Regions from separate parts of the Homo sapiens genome. Here region 1 is linked to region 2. Evidence: promoter capture Hi-C in 16 types of primary human blood cells and fetal thymus (Javierre and others, 2016). All regions are on one chromosome and are shown on one strand. The core of a region is centred on a gene start or on the middle of the fragment in contact, and the rest is flanking DNA. Distances in the headings are between cores, read along the strand shown. Region 1 overlaps FOXJ3 (forkhead box J3). Region 2 holds the start of ZNF691-DT (ZNF691 divergent transcript).

What was found. Contacts are between HindIII fragments. The CHiCAGO score rates a contact against its expected background, and 5 or more counts as called.
Region 1: a contact is called between a fragment that was not itself captured here and the fragment with the promoter of ZNF691-DT in region 2, in 1 of 17 cell types (monocytes). The highest score is 5.1, in monocytes.

Annotation. Positions count from the first base shown.
Region 1 is chr1:42,331,056-42,333,755 of GRCh38, forward strand. All of the region lies in intron 1 of FOXJ3 (forkhead box J3), which reads right to left. Among named protein-coding and RNA genes, the nearest start is that of FOXJ3, 2.8 kb to the right of the region's middle. The HindIII fragment of the contact is 1,167 bases long and covers 766-1,932 here.
Region 2 is chr1:42,845,084-42,847,783 of GRCh38, forward strand. It overlaps ZNF691-DT (ZNF691 divergent transcript), which reads right to left and starts at 1,331. Exons shown (of 5, transcript NR_186083.1): 1 at 1,174-1,331. ZNF691 (zinc finger protein 691) reads left to right here and starts at 1,530. Exons shown (of 4, transcript NM_001242739.2): 1 at 1,530-1,574. RefSeq lists enhancers at 1,067-1,336, 1,497-1,566. The HindIII fragment of the contact is 2,341 bases long and covers 1-1,386 here.

The DNA.
Region 1 (2,700 bases), core at 99-2,598, 510 kb before region 2:
ATTCAATGAAAATGGGGAGGAGTTTAAAAGAATTAAGAAACTTGACCAGGCGCGGTGGCTTACACCTGTAGTCTCAGCACTTTGGGAGGCCGAGGCAGGCAGACCACTTGAGGTCAGGAGTTCAAAGACCAGCCTGGCCAACATGGTGAAACCTCGTCTCCACTAAAAACGCAGAAATTAGCGGGGCATGGTGGTGCACGCCTGTAATCCCAGCTACTGTGGAGGGTGAGGTGGGAGAATCGCTTGAACCTGGGAGGCAGAGGTTGCAGCGAGCCGAGATGGCGCCACTGCACTCCAGCCTAGGCGACAGAGAGAAACTCTGTCTCAAATAATAATAATAATAATGAAAGAATAAGAAACTCAAATGTCCATCAACTAAAGCAATGGCTATCAACGTAGTATATACATACAGTGGAATATTATTTGGCAATAAAAAGGAATGAAATACTGATACATGCTACATGGATGGGCCTTGAAACATATGCAAGTGAAAGAAGTCAGACACAAAAGACCGTATGTTGTATGAAATGCCCACAACAGGCATTTGGAATTATCAACATCTCTACAAGATTGTAAGTACATTAGTGGCTGCCTGGAGGTGAGGGTACGGGGAGTGACTGCCAATGGGTACAAGGCTTTTTTTTGAAATGCTGTCCTAAAAATGACTGTGGTGATGGTTGCACAACTCTGTGAATACACTAAAAACCACTGACTTGTATACTTTAAATGTGTGAATGAAATGGTATGTGAATTATACTTCAAGAAAGCTTTTTTAAAAAAAAAAAAGAATAAAAGTTTAAGGAGAGAAGCGTTAAAGTATAAAATCACTGGCTTTGGAACATAAGTTTGTTTCTTTTTTTAAGGAAATACTAATAATTACCATATCAGATACTAATGTCTCTACAAATCCTGTGAAAAACAAATCTGGCATCTATTCTTACCCCTCCTTTCAATTTTCTCTCTAAGTTTACAAATTATCTCTTCTGCTTTAATTCAATTGTCTTTTCATTGTAGTCACTGTTTCTGAACTTCTACACCGCATTTGAAACTGTCAACACCCTGCCCTTGTAGAAAATCTTCCTATCCTGGAAATGATGCACTTTCTGGTTCTTCTCAGAATGCTATTAGCCTATTTCAAGACCCAAAATTCCAAACCTCAAAGCTCTTTCTTCATTATACTACTACCCTCCCAACACACATCTACTGATGTGTTTTACTAGCATCTATATCCCTGGTCAGTGCAAAATCTACCTTTCATCTAACCGTTCATTGTATATGGGAATAATTACATGCATAAGGTTAAGCAACTTGCCCAAAGTCCCTTCTGATTTTAATACCTTATTATGAAGATTTAATGAATTAAACAAACGTAGGCGCTTAGAATACCTGTCATACAGTAAGTAAATGTTAGCTATTATTTTATTCCTACAACCACTATCTTATATCAGACCCTCATCAGCTTATTCCTAAAATTCTCCATAAGCACTCTAATCAGTCTCTCCACTCCCAGGACACTCAGCTGAAACAAAAACCTTCCTCAGGAACAAGATGCATCATCTTACTCTCATTCTTTAGAACCCATTGTGGTACCCTATCAAACTAAACCCTCTATCCTTGAAAGATCCTCCATCAATACCCCCTCACCAATCCTAAACTCATTTATTATTATTCACCAACACAGATGATCTGACAGTCAAGCTCCTTGATATCATTTGTACATTGCCACTTCTCTCGCTTTGCACAGGCCCCTTCACTCTCCTGAAATACACCTCTTTCCCTTTGGAAATTTGTATCTTTCTCAAATGTCCCTTACACTTTTGACCTTGGTTGTACTGTTATCCCAAGGAGAAGTTTGATGCAGTTTGATAATTCTGAATGATGTACATGTTTCCCGAACAGAAAAAGAAACTCTGTTCTTTCGATATAAGTTGAAGCTTTCCAAGAGACCACGTATCTTATTCGTCTCTTCATACAGACTTCACACATAGATAACTCGGTACTTTACAGAAGTACACAAATGCTGACTTACCAAAAAAAAACAAAAAGCCTCAGTATGTATCAGAACAACATTCTCCATTTTCCACTGCCCCACCCATACTTAGCATAATGAAAAAATATAATCTAAAATCTATATTTAAATATTTTCATTCTACATAGAAGGAAAGGGAATATACGAACTGTACCAGATAAAAGGAAAAAAATGTCAAAAATATACTCAAAGAATGTACAATGTGAAAAAGTGAGAATGCAGGCCACTTTGGAATCTAGTAAGTGACTTTGAAACATTAAGTTTTTTTATTTTACCCAAACTAATGAACAAAAAAGAGCCAAAATAAACACGTTCTAGCCTCATCCAAAAAAAATCTAATGAAAGCATGAGAAACTTCCCAGTTTTGTCCTCGGCAGCACAAAACCAAGAAGATTCACCTCAATTCTGAGACACAAAAGCAAAAAGAGAAATCCTCCTATTTATCTAAGAAACTAAAAAACTTAATCACGTCTATATAATATATACCACTCAGAAAAAGAGAGGAGTTACTGCTTTTCTATAAATATTTGCTAGGGACCAGGAGGAATAGGCTTCTCTCACTGTTATTGCGGGAACAATCTGTGGTCTCAAAACAGCAAAACAGAAGATGGAAACCCTAATCTGGAAGAGACATTAAGAAAAAAACTACTCAAACCATGTTTCAAACCAGT
Region 2 (2,700 bases), core at 81-2,580:
CACCGTTCATACTAAAGCCATAGTTTTATTCCTGAGTCTGCTCTCTAGTATTTTATTTTATCAATTTATAAACAAATAGTGTTCATAAGGCACACATATTTCACTCAACCATATTCAGTTCCAAACATGCATTCCTGAATATCCCAATCTTAAAACTAACTCACATTGTCAGCTTGTGGAGGCAGAATACATGCATACATATACACATACATACATGAATATACATATAATATACACACACATATGCATACATACACATATACACATGTATACATGTATGTGTATATACATATCTGTACTACATAGGTGTATATATATGTATATGTATTTAGCATGTATGCACGTGTATATGTATACACATATATACATATGTATGTATAATACATATTCACACATGTATGCATGTATATACACATGTATACATTAGTATATGTATATACACATGTATGTGTATTATACATGTATATATGTACATACATATCAGTCTACTGATTTGAATATTAATGTCATCAAGAAATAACCTCAATATATGTATGTATTATAACCTTACAACTATATAAAACATACATACATATATATGTATATATGTATACACATACACATGCATGAGAATATATGTATGTATATATAATATCCTCACAGTAATTCTGCCAGGGATTTTATGGGGGAGGGAGTTGGTACTCCAAATGGCTAGGTGGTAGAGCCAGAGTTTTATACTTGGTTTATCTAGCTCTGAAGGCAATGCTCCTTGTTCTTTGCACTGAAACATTGTGCAGATACGAGAAGCCTGTAGTTTACGTATTTCATTAGCCTTTTATTATTTTAAAAAATAAAACCTGAAAAAAAAGACCTAGTCCTGGATACTTTGGTGATCTTGTTGTGTCTGGATTGACGAACACGTGTCAGGCTTAATTAGGGATGCACGCGGAACCCGGGAAAATCCCTGCTCAGGGGGGCTGGAAGACCTGGAGGTTGATCCTTGAACAGGGTACTTTTAGCTTCTCCGATAAGGAGATTGGGTTATTTTATCTTTAAACTCCCTTCCAGCTCTACCCTCCTTTGATTTTAAGTTATAAACCTTGAGTGAGGTGCCAGACTCTAGGCTTCGTTGGACGTCTACAGGACGGTCAAGGATTACCAACTCAAAGTAAAGAAGGAAATTTGAGTACTTGCCCCCTTGGAGGTTGTGTAGGTTGGCTATACAGATTCTACAACTTCCCAGACGAGTGGCCCTGAGACTTGGGGCTGAACGCGCGAGCACGGAAAGAAATCCCACCGTAGGACGGAACCCAGTCTCTTCAGCTCCATCCTAAACTTCGCAAGTTTTCTCTGAGTCTACGCGCTTCCTTAGGACTACAACTCCCAGCATGCCACGCCAGCGGTCAAAGCTTATTGGTGGTCCTGCCAGGTCGCTTGCGTTGTGGCAGTCATGGTAGCCAATGGAAATAAAGAATTATCCCAAGAAACCAATCCTGGAGTAGTAGGGCGGATCCTTCCTGGGTTCCGGCTCCGGCTCCAGCTCCTTCCCTCGCCTACAGAGGCGGCGCTGTCCCTGATCGAGCGGCGGGAGCGAGGTGGGTCCGGGTTGGGCCCGAGGTCGCGGGGGGAGGCGGACACGACTTCGCGGGAAACTCTGTACACGGCCACTTCCCTCTCACCGAGGATCTGGATGCTGCTGCTTTGCTCCCTGGACCGAGTGGGAAGCCAAGGGGCCTTGTGGTCCCTCCGCCGCGACCCTCGCCCTGGCCCCCGGCCCACGCAGCCAGGTGGCTGTCCCCAACCCATTCCCCGGCCCTTCTGTTGGGTTTGAGTATACAGCCTTCCTGCCGCTGACCATACGTTTAGGATCAGCCCCTCCTCCTCTCCCACCTCTCTGGCCCCAAGCCCGCCGGCAATCTCTGAAACCAGCTCTTGTACCCTTGGACCTCCGCCATTGGCTTCTCCCCGCCCCGCAACACACAACTCAGCTCTTGGGCCCTGGCCTGTGACACTTCTGGCAGCCTTTGCTTCCTCTTCCCTGACCGTCTCCTGCGACCCTCTGACTTCCTTGGTCCTCCTGTATCTCTGACCCGTTATCTAGCTTCCCTGTACAATTACCCTGTTAGCACCTTGCTCTTGGTCTTTCATAGCTCCTCTCTCCTCTTCCTCCCTGCAGCCCTTGACTTGGCCCCAAAGACCTGTAACTTCGGACCTCCATACCGCACTATGGCTTGGCCCCTTGCCTTTAACCTAGGCGCTTCACCTTCATCATCTGTGATCACTAGCCCCATCTTCTTGGCTCTTAACTTCTTAGACCTGGCCCCTCCTCCACTTCTCAGCCCCTTCCACCGTTGCTTCTCTCTGTGCAGCTGAGCCACCAGGAAGACAAAGCCCAATAGACCCCTTTTCCCCCCAGATCTCTGCAGTGTGATATGAAAGTGCCTCTGTACTTCAGCTGCACTGTCTTCTCAGTAGGTAGTTGCCTCTTTATCTCTGCAAGTCCCAGTCTTACCCATCCTGCAAACCTTAGGTCAAATACCTACTCCTCCTTGAAACTTCTCAGCCCTGATTTCATCAGGGAGATACATCTGTATCATGTGAACTTCAGTGGTACTGTTTTTATTTCCTTCCTTCCCGTCTTCTCTCCTTTTTTCCTTCAGTAATAGTATAATGGTTAAAAGCACTGACTTTGAAGTGATGGGCATAGGCCCCAGTTCTGCC